3 separate regions of the Homo sapiens genome follow, and all the other regions are linked to region 3. The links are contacts of gene promoters, found by promoter capture Hi-C in human tissues and cell types (Jung and others, 2019). All regions are on one chromosome and are shown on one strand. The core of a region is centred on a gene start or on the middle of the fragment in contact, and the rest is flanking DNA. Distances in the headings are between cores, read along the strand shown.

Region 1 (3,375 bases), core at 472-2,971, 270 kb after region 3:
CCATAGGATCTGCAAGGAAGGTGCAACAGGATACTCCCTTGAGCCATGTGACACTCCATGACAAAGGCACCCCCAACTATGCCCCTGGGTGTCAACCTCCCTATCCTTTTCTGGTTCATGACCTCGAGATGCCTCCCAAGGCATCTTGTCTGAATTCTTGTGTTCCGAACCTTGGCTTGTTATATGTGGCGCACTTTATGCAAGTTACACAAAACTGGACTCCAGGCGTGGTGCTGCATGCCTGTAATCCCAGACACTCAGGAGGCTGAGGTGGGAGGATTACAAGCCCAGAAGTTTGAGTTCAGCCTGGGCAACATAGTGAGACCCCATCTCTTAAAAAAAAAAAAAAAGGGAAAGAAATAACTTAATTCTTTTTTTCTGGCATAGAGAGGTTCCAAAGACCAATCCTGAAGCTTGGTAAAGGACTACAGCTGTTACCCCCACATTCTATCAGGCTATTAAGACTCACTCAGCCGCAACATGGCCAGGCCCCCACACCAAGTTAGGCAAGCTACAGATACCAAGGAGTAGGAACTGCAAACACAAATACAGGGCAAACTGCAGGTACCTAATCCTGACACGTCACCTGGCTGAACTTTGGTAGCAGAAGCCCAAGGAACACAGACTTATGGCTTTGTGTATATAGACATTGTCCTGTAGTCCAAAGGATGTGACTCTGTGGCAGACGGGAACCTAGAACATTGGACATTTATTATATTACATTAACTACCTTGCTTGCTTCCAGGTTTCTGGAAGTTTTGGTAACACAGCTAAATACTAGGGCCTAGTTTTTGCTAAGAACGTGGGTAGCTCTGACATTCCTTTGTCCATTAGGCAGATCCACTGTATAAATGGAAACATCTGTATTTTAAAGATTTTCCTAGCTGATTTTATCGAAATGTTAGAGATTTTCCTGGGGCGAGGGATAGCTGCAAGTTATTACAGTCAGATTTCTAAGCACGATGATTATTTCTGGTGGCAAACCATGCGTGTGGAGGCCGATTCCTCCTATCAGCCTAACGATTAAGTCAACATGCTAAGCAGCCACACGGGGGCTACTAAGTGACTCGCACGGGGGAAGCAGGCAGGGAGACAGATGGGCAGGGGAGGGAATCTGGGGCAATGCACAACCTCCACCCAGGTAGAGAGAGGGTCTGGGGGATAGGTCTGTGTCACTCAAGTAAGAGCGACACTTCTTGGGGTCCAGTCCCGTCCTGGGCTTGCCCGGGAAAGACCCCAGGACAAATTCGGCCCCCTTCCAGAGTGTCCCCATTCTGCTCCCACAATGGGACAAGCCGGCCTCTTCTCCAGTCTGGGCCCCCTTCGGCCCTCCTCCCTCCTCCTGTCTCTTGGGCCCCCAGCCATGCTCGGCCCCCAGTTGACTTCTTCAGTACCTGCATTGCTCAGCGTCTTGCACTCTGTGCGTGCCCCATCCGCCGCTCCTCCTGTCCCGTTCCTCCTGCCTCTCTCAGCCCCACTCACTCTCCCACTGCCCCTCGTGCCCCCATCCAACCCTCCTCCTGCCCCCCAACCTCTGTCTCTCAGTCCCAAGCCAGTCAGGGAGCCCTGACAGCAGCTACCCGGACGGCAGTGCGAGCCCCTTACCCGGGCGCAGCAGGCCCCCGGCGGCCTGGTGGCCCTCGGACAGTAGGAAGGAGCCTGAGGCCCGGCGCGGGGACGTGGCCGGCAGCGCAACCCAGGCAGCTCCGGGCAGCGCGCCCTGCCCGGGCCCCGCCCAAACGCCGGAAATGACGTCACGGAGGGCGGGGCGGGCCTGCTGGCCGGGGCGAAGAGCGGCTGCGGCGGGGCCTGTGGCGAACGGAGGCGAGCCGGAAGTGGGGGGGTTGTCTGCTCTCAGGCCCCGCCTCCCCGGGGCCGGCTCGGGCCACTTCTTGCGCGCTGCCAGAAGGAGCTATTTTGAGCAGGTCTGTGGCGGAAGTGGGTGTTCCCGGGTCTCTGCTGCCCAGCTGTGCCCGCTGCCGTCTTGGGGTCCCGGGGTGCGCGGGTTGGGCTGGGTGAGCTCAGAGGCACCTTGTCGGCAGCCGAGCCTGAAGAGGCGACCTCGAAACGCCTCGTGAGACCTTTCGCGGGCACACGCCCTTCGCGTTCCTCCGCTTCCTCCCACGTTTCTTCAGCCCCTGGCGGGGCGCTGGGGTGCCCGGTAGTTAAGGGTGGGGTGGCAGCGAGCGTTTCTGTGCACCCGCAGCGTGCCACGCCCGTGCTAAGCACTTTGCCTATAGAGCCAGTGGCTTAATTCTGCAATAGCACAGTGAAGAACTTCGCCTCATTTTACAGACGTGGAAACAGGCTCATCAAGTGCTCTGTAATTGTAAAACCTGGGATAACAAAGGAGCAAAACGCAATTTAGAGGCAAGTGTGTGGGACTTGACTTTGGTTAGAAATAGGCTTTGCAGGCCAGGCGCGGTGGCTCTTGCCTGTAATCCTAGCACTTTGGGAGGCCGAGACGGGCGGATTATCTGAGCTCAGGAGTTCGAGACCAGCCTGGGCAACATGGTGAAACCCTGTGTCTACTAAAATACAAAAAATTAGCCGGGCGTGGTGGCGTGCGCCTGTAGTCCCAGCTACTCGGGAGGCTGAGGCAGGAGAATTGCTTGAACCTGGGAGGTGGAGGTTGAAGTGAGCAGAGATCGTGCCACTGCACTCCAGCCTGGGCGACAGAGCGAGACTCTGTCTCCAAAAAAAAAAAAGAAAGAAAGAAATAGGCTTTGCAAGTTAGTAGTTCTGTGACTGAATCCCAGTCTGTATAAGACCCTCAGGCATCCCCCGGTCCAAACCAAAACCTGTCTGCGAAGGATGATTTCACAGGAGCAAACCAAGACTTTATTTCCAGTTTTATAACCTGCCTTGGGGTCTTCGGCTAGGAAGCTAAGAGACACAGAAAGCTGAGATTGGGCAAAGACAGGATCTACCATCCACTCCGAGCTCTGGGAGCACCTGAAATGCGATTTGATGTCACCACCACCATCCCCAGTTCAACCACAGTTCATGTGTGGAATTTAACCTGCAAAGTTGGGTTTGCTGAGACCCAACGCCGGTTGGATCATGTGAAGATCAGATCCTTTCACTATGTATTTGCTTTAATTTTTCCAACTAGTTCGGATCTAACATGAAGTACAGTATTGAGGCTCACTCCAGAAGTGAAAATATACAATCGGCAGGCAGATTTTAGTTCTTTGCCTGCCCTTTTCAAAAATCAATGACTGGGCTGGGCGCGGTGGCTCACGCCTGTAATCCCAACATTTTGGGAGGCCAAGGCGGGCGGATCACCTGAGGTCAGGAGTTTGAGACCAGCCTGACCGATATGGTGAAACCCGTCTCTACTAAAAATATAAAAATTAGCCAGGCGTGGTGGCG
Region 2 (3,561 bases), core at 161-2,660, 360 kb after region 3:
GGGCAGGAGAGGTGTGCTTTTTGCCAGGCATGGCTTCCTCCTTTCTTCCCTGGGGGAGACTTTGCCACTTGACCTGGGGGAGCCCGTGTGTCACCATCACAGGCTGTGTTTGGGAGGTGCCCTGTGCACGCCGGGAGAAATGTACGAGGGCGCCAGCTCCTGGGGCTCTTGACCTGGCCTCACTTGTCTGGTTGAAAGCAAATGGGAAGCCTGGCATGGTGGCGCACGCCTGTAATCCCAGCGCTTTGAGAGGCTGAGGTGGGTGGATCACCTGAGGTCAGGAGTTCGAGACCAGCCTTGCCAACATGATGAAACCCTGTCTCTACTAAAAATACAAAAATCATCTGGGCGTAGTGGTGGGCATCAGTGATCCCAGCTACTCGGGAGGCTGAGGCAGGATAATTGCTTGAACCCGGGAGGCGGAGGTTGCAGTGAGCTGAGATTACATCACTGCACTCCAGCCTGGGCGACAGACCGAGACTCCATCTCAAAAAAAAAAAAAGAAATTAATTGGGTCAGCAGCAATGACTGTCGGGGGACCCTCCTGATGGCTCCTCCACCCCGCTTCCCTGACTGCAGGCAGAAGGTGGTGGAGGGCAGCCTGACGCACCCCTTCGCCCTGACGCTCTCCGGGGACACTCTGTACTGGACAGACTGGCAGACCCGCTCCATCCATGCCTGCAACAAGCGCACTGGGGGGAAGAGGAAGGAGATCCTGAGTGCCCTCTACTCACCCATGGACATCCAGGTGCTGAGCCAGGAGCGGCAGCCTTTCTGTGAGTGCCGGCTGGGGCGCGGGGGCGAGGGTGCGGGGGCTGGGGGGAGCGGGGGCGCGGGGCAGGGGAGTGGGAGGATGCGGGGGCGTGGGGGTGCGCGGGCGTGGGTGGGGTGGGGGGGCAGGTGACCCCTCCCTGCAGAAGCCCATGCTCTGGGGGGCCCCCTCTCTAAAGGGGTACCTGCTGCAATGGAGGGAGGTGTGTGGCTGGCTGGGGGACACGGGCCTGCAGAGGACCCCTCTGCAGAGCTCATGGGGGCTATTTCAGGCTCAGCAGTGGCAAGGGGATTTCCAAGGAAGGTTGCCTCGTTTTCAAGGCCCAGAAGAAGTTGTCTGTGTGTGTGTGTATATGTATTTATATACACATACACGTATGTGTGTATATATATATATGGTTATTTATATATACATATATATGTGTGTGTGTGTGTGTGTGTGTGTGTGTGTATGTATTTTTAATAGAGATGAGAGATTTTGCCACGTTGCCCAGGCTTGTCTCAAACTCCTGGGCTCCAGTGATCCTCACACCTTGACTTCCCAAAGTGCTGGGGTCACAGGTATGAGCCACCATGCTTGGCCCTGCAAGTCGCGTATTTATCAATGAATAATCTGCCCAGAATCAGCAGTTCTCAGCCTGGGGGCCACGCTGGGTTGTGACAGAGGTCCCTGATGGGGAAATGCACCAGCTTCTGTGACAGTGGGGCTGCGGCTCTGGGGACAGTGGCCCACTCCCACAGGGACCAGGGATGGAGATTTCTGGCCAGGCCATTATGGAAGGTTTGGACTTTGAATTGAAATGTGGGGCCTAGGGGTGCCAGCTGTTCCCAGAGCAGGACACAGGAGGGTGGGGCTCTCTGGAGCTGTTTCCTGGTGAGAAAGTCGTGGTCACAAAACCCATCTACACTTGGGGCAGCATGAGGGAGGGAGAGGTTCATTTTGATGAGTTTGTTGTTCCAGTTATATCCGTATTTTGGGGCTGCTACACCCAGCTTTCCCCTGGTTTGAATGAGGTGCTGGAAGCATTTATCGAGTTCCGTTCAATTGCTGTTGGTCATAGAAGGGCTTGGGAGAGTGACAAGCTTGGCCATCCCAGCAAGAGGGACAGTGTTCCTATGGAAGCTGCTGGGTCCACACATAGCACAAAGACAAGACAAGCCTTTTGCCCAGGAGCCCATTGTCTCTGGGGTTCCCGTCACTACCACACAGGCAGGTCCTGACCCCGGCCATTGGAGCGTGGGGGGCAGCCTTTGCAGAGGGGTGTCCTTTGGGGGCTCCGAGGAGCTGGGGAGGGTGTTCTAGTCATAGGAGCTTGGTGGGAGGAAGCAGATGGGGAGATGTCACTCCATGGGCAGGTCACATCTGGGTGTGAGGGTGGCCAGGAAGGTCACGGCTGGTTTTGGGGAAATTGCAGGCCGTCTGGCCAGGCTGAGGGCCCCATGTGGACGGGCCAGCGATGAGGCAGGTGGAATGGTGCCAGCGGGGAGGTCCCTGATGCCACTTGAGGCCGATGTTTGGGCAGAGGGACACACTGGAGGCTGTCACGGGGGACGAGGCAGGATGTGACTCATTCAGAAACAAGTGACGGTCCTCTTCTGGAACCTTCTCTCACTCTGTCCTGGTTTTCTCAGTCCACACTCGCTGTGAGGAGGACAATGGCGGCTGCTCCCACCTGTGCCTGCTGTCCCCAAGCGAGCCTTTCTACACATGCGCCTGCCCCACGGGTGTGCAGCTGCAGGACAACGGCAGGACGTGTAAGGCAGGTGAGGCGGTGGGACGGGACGGGGCGGGCGGGCGGGGCGGGGCCTGGCGGGAATGGGTTGCGGCCGCCGGGGGTGCCCCAGAAGGAACCTCGGCAAACCCGTTCGAAATGATCCACTTGGCGGGTGTGGTGATTCAAGTCTGTGGTCCCAGCTACTCGGGAAGCTGAGTTGGGAGGATTGCTTGAGCCCAGGAGGTCAATCCTGTTTTGTTTTGTTTTATTTTTGCCCCAGATATTTTCCACTTTTTTACTCTCCGCCTTGGTCCTCAGGCACTTGGTGCTTCCTGGGACTGTGTTGCAGTGAGGCATGGCTCTTCTCCTCTGGGGCACCGGCTGAGGATCTTTCTTTCCAGGTGTCGGTTCGGGGCGGGCCCTTCGGGAAATCACACACGTTCAGGATGCAGCTCGCCTTCGGGGATGCTCCCGGGCCTGGGATAGCCAGTCTGGCCTCTGGGGCTGACCCTGGGGCCTGGCAAGCGAGGGGGTAACGAGAGGTGTCAGGAAAGCGCCATCCCTGGGACCAGTCCTCCCCGTTTCTGTAGCGTGATGGGGCCCAGCTTGCAGAAGGTGGTGGGGGACAGGGCCTGCTTCCTGTGCCGGTGTCCCACTCGGGAGGGCAGGGGGCTTCCAAGTGGGCTGGCTTCCACACTCAGGAACAGTCCTAAGGGCAGAGTCTCGGTGTGGGGCCCCCTAGAAGGACTCTCCTGGCATCCGGTGGATGGAGAAGTGTCCTTGCTCTCACTGCTGTCTGAGCACATGGGGGTCCTGACTTTAGGAACAGTTTCCTGGTCCCCCTGTTCTTGCTGGCTAGGGTCTGTGTTTGTGTGCAGCGGCTGGGGTGTGTGTGTGGTCGTGGCGCCCGTGGCGTGTGGGTCTTTTCTCTGCTCCCTGGCAGGGGTCCTGCGTTTGGTGAGGATTTTCCAGGTTTGTATTTGTCTTTCTCTTTCTGAGAGCAGGGCATCTTTAATGAAGACATGGCTGTTACATCAAAGGGTCTGTCCGCTGTGCCGGCTGCTGCAGGGGATGG
Region 3 (3,395 bases), core at 330-2,829:
GTGATGGGGAGGCTGAACCACATACCTCCAGGGCTCAGATCTGGGGGAGAGCTCTGGGGCACCTGCCCAGCCATGCCTGTCTGTGAGAAACACCCCCTCAGCACCAGTCACAGCGACTGGGCCAGGCATGGGTGCCTGGACTTTGCTGACCGATCAGAAACCCCTAACTCTACAGCCCCAACCCTGAAGGCCACAGTGGCTCTGGGAGGCCTCCAAGGAGGCCACGAGGAGGGTGCCACGTGAGGCCCAGGCAAGCTGGGAGGGAGCTCAGCCCGTGTGAATCTGTTGCTGGAAACCAAATGTGCCCTGAGGCAAAGTTCCTGTTTCCTTCCCCAAATCCGAGTTTCACCCCCTTCACTCTCAGGCTTCCGGGTAGAAAAAAACCTCTCCCTTGTTCCCTCGCCCCACAAACACCCCGGCAGATGGACACCTCCTGGCCCGCCGGCCTCTGTACCCCTCCGAAATGGGAGTACCGCAGCATCCCACAGGAGCAGCCGCGCCCACCTGATGAGCACAGGTGTGTAGAGCAGGGCGGCGATGGGAGTCACGTTGATGCCCATCAGCATTTTGCTGTCGATGTCGGGCAGCCCCATGTTGCCATACTTCACCTCGCGGTAGGTCTCGTCGTAGTGCAGGATCAGCTGCATCTGCAGGAGGCCTGGGGACAGGACAGAGAGCGGCGTGCAGGGAGCAGCCTAGCTTTGGGCGCCACCGAGCAGAAGACGGCATGCAGGCCTCGCAGGGAGCTCCAATCACCGAAGGCATTCCCGCTGACAGCGCCCCTCAGGACAGCGGGGTTCCCGGGCTGCGCCACGCCTTCTGCCAGCCCGCGGCCACTTGGCCAGCTAAGCCCAGACCCCCACCCGCCTTGCTCCGCCGGCCTCCAATTCTGACGGTGGCAGGTCTGTCCGGGAGCCCGGACCCCCGTCCCCCACCCACACCGAGGCTCTGGCTGGGACCCGGGGACGCTGCGCTACTTGACCCCCCAACCCCACCCCCGCCGCGGGGGGCCGTGGCTGCAGCTGCGAGGGCAGCGGAGGGGAAGTGAGAGCGGGCGGGAGGCGGCGGCCCGCGGTTTCTGTTTCCCGGGCCGGGCTGGGAGCGGGCGGGGCGGCCCCGGGTCCCCGAGCGGCACCTACCCAGGTAGACGCCGTAGGTGAGCATGCCCCCGGCGCTGGCAGCCAGCACGTTCTTGAGCACGCCCAGGCGCTTGCGGCGGTAGTAGCGGCGCTCCTCCTCCTCCTCGTTGTAGTTGGGGTACGCGCCCACCAGCTCGTCCAGCTGCGAGCCACGCACGCCGCTCGCACCCGCGATCGCGCCCCGAACCCGTGTCCCCCGGTGCCCGCCGCCCCCCGGCCCGCCCCGCCCCCGCCGGGGGGACCCTGGCCCACAGGGGACGCCCGCGCCTCGCACTCCGGGTCCCCGCTCACCGGGGCCTCGGGCCCGTCCGGGACCCCGAGCAGGTCCTCGTCGCCCTGCGGCCCCGCAGCCCCCGCCATCGGGTAGAGCGGCGGCTCCGCCTCCATGGCCCGAACTACTGCGGACTCGCGGCGGTCGCCCCGGAGTCCCTGCGACCGCCCGGCCACTTCCTCCCGGCGGCCGGGACCTGCCCCCGCCCCGCCCTGTCCCGCCCTGCGGGCCGCCTCCTCCAGGACACGTGTGTGTGTATGTGTGTGTGCGCGCGCGCGCGCGCGTGTGTGCAGGGGCCTGCCTGTGTGTGCCCTCTGGGGTGTGAGTTCGAATCCCCACTCAGCCACCTCCTGGCCCTGTGACTTTAGGAATTAACTCCATTTCTTTGTGCCTCGGTTTCCTCCGTTTCCTCGACGGTAAAACAGAAATACATGGCACTACCCCCGGGGCCATGGCGGAACTATTGAGTTAATGCAAAGCCTTGGAAAAGTGCCAGGGTTGCCTGGCTCCCTTAAGCTCCCCTCAGGGTTGCCTGGGTCGTCCCCAGCCCCACCTCCAAGCCTGCTGTTACAGCTCATCAAAGAGCACTGCAGGGACAGTAGCGTCACCACCTGGACCCCACCTCCCACCACCGGACGCTACAGCCAGAGCCCACCTCCCATGTCCCCATCCTGCTCCAGTTTGGGCTGTGCAAATGGGAGCTTGAGTGGGTCCTGGGAGGTGGAGATTGTGATCCCCACTGAACTACATGGGGGACCCTGCCACAACCATGTAGTGGGGCCCAGAGCCACCTGCCCCCATCCTGCTGGGCACTGGATCCCGGGCTGCAGCGGGAGCCTGTGGTGGGGCCGACACTCCAAAGCACTGGCTACCACCGACCTGGCTGGAGCCACGGGGCCACTTTTGAAAATATCCAGATTCTCTCCCCTGGGTTCCTTCTGGTTTGAATGCTCTTCCTGCTGCGCCTCCCAGGTGGCTTCCTTCCCACTCAGCTCTCAGAACAAGAGACCATCCCTGCAGAGAATGCAGTCCCTTCACTTCCCTTCTGGTTTTCCATGCCCTCCCTGTGCACCCCCCTCCACCCACTGCTCTTTAGGTACATCCTCTCCCAAATGCAGAGGATGGCATTGGGCACCTACTGAGTGATCAATACTTGTGACTGGATGGGTGCATGAGTGACTGGATGACAAACACCTCCCACCCCGCAAGGATTGCTGGGAAGGTGGGGGGAGGCGTGAATCTGCAGTGGCTTCAGGCTTCCAGGAGGTAGAACTTTCTCCAGGTGACGATGCCCAAGTGCAGATGTGGGGAACAGACAGGTGGATTCATGCAGGTGGGTGGCTGGAAGTGGGAGACAGGAAAGGAGCCGAAGAGAGGGCAGGGCCCGAGGCGCAGGGGCAGGGAGGAGGTGGGAGAGTATGGCTATGGCGGGGGCCGTTCTCAGATGGCAGACACCAGCATCATTACACAGTATGATGAGAAAGTGCAATTCTCCTGACTCAGCCTTGTGAGTAGCTGGAATTACAGGCGTGTGCCCCTACACCCAGCTGATTTTTGTATTTTTAGTAGAGATGGGGTTTCACCATATTGGCCCAGGCTGGTCTCGAACTCCTGACCTCAAGTGATGTACCCGCCTTAGCCCCCAAAGTGCTGGGAGTGGGCCCCCCGAGCTTCTCAATTTCCCTGAGGGACCCCAAACTTCTGGGGCCTGGTGCAATCTCTTCCTCCCCTTGTTCCTCTGGGCCTGGGGGTTGTGGCGGTTGCTATGGTTGCCCATCCTGGGCTCTTCCATCACCTGTGCTGTACCACCAATTCCCTGCACTCAATGTCTCCTACTCAAAACACCTGGAGAGGGTCGGGCGCTGTGGCTCACGCCTGCAATCCCAGCACTTTGGCTGGCCAAGGAGGATCACTTGAGCTCAGGAGTTCAAGACCAGCCTCAACAAAGTGAGACAAACCCCCCCCCCCAACCCATCTCTACAAAA

Evidence for each region. Contacts are between HindIII fragments. The study calls those that stand out against the background at their distance.
Region 1: a contact is called between the fragment with the promoter of C11orf24 here and the fragment with the promoter of UNC93B1 in region 3, in 1 of the 25 tissues and cell types used here (small bowel).
Region 2: a fragment that was not itself captured here is called in contact with the fragment with the promoter of UNC93B1 in region 3 in 1 of the 25 tissues and cell types used here (lymphoblastoid cells).

Annotation. Positions count from the first base shown.
Region 1 is chr11:68,270,252-68,273,626 of GRCh38, forward strand. C11orf24 (chromosome 11 open reading frame 24) reads right to left here and starts at 1,722. Exons shown (of 4, transcript NM_022338.4): 1 at 1,606-1,722. LOC105369363 (a long non-coding RNA gene) reads left to right here and starts at 1,851. Exons shown (of 3, transcript XR_950248.3): 1 at 1,851-1,925. RefSeq lists a silencer at 1,520-1,919 and an enhancer at 1,831-2,685. The HindIII fragment of the contact is 13,528 bases long and covers 1-3,375 here.
Region 2 is chr11:68,363,168-68,366,728 of GRCh38, forward strand. LRP5 (LDL receptor related protein 5) reads left to right here. Exons shown (of 23, transcript NM_002335.4): 4 at 580-776; 5 at 2,404-2,535. Among named protein-coding and RNA genes, the nearest start is that of LRP5, 52 kb to the left of the region's middle. The HindIII fragment of the contact is 5,680 bases long and covers 1-3,561 here.
Region 3 is chr11:68,002,518-68,005,912 of GRCh38, forward strand. It overlaps UNC93B1 (unc-93B1 regulator of TLR signaling), which reads right to left and starts at 1,580. Exons shown (of 11, transcript NM_030930.4): 1 at 1,431-1,580; 2 at 1,140-1,281; 3 at 505-658. The coding sequence starts at 1,526. RefSeq lists enhancers at 133-332, 433-482, 583-632, 1,537-2,080, 2,081-2,623 and silencers at 933-1,342, 1,403-1,702. The HindIII fragment of the contact is 30,745 bases long and covers 1-3,395 here.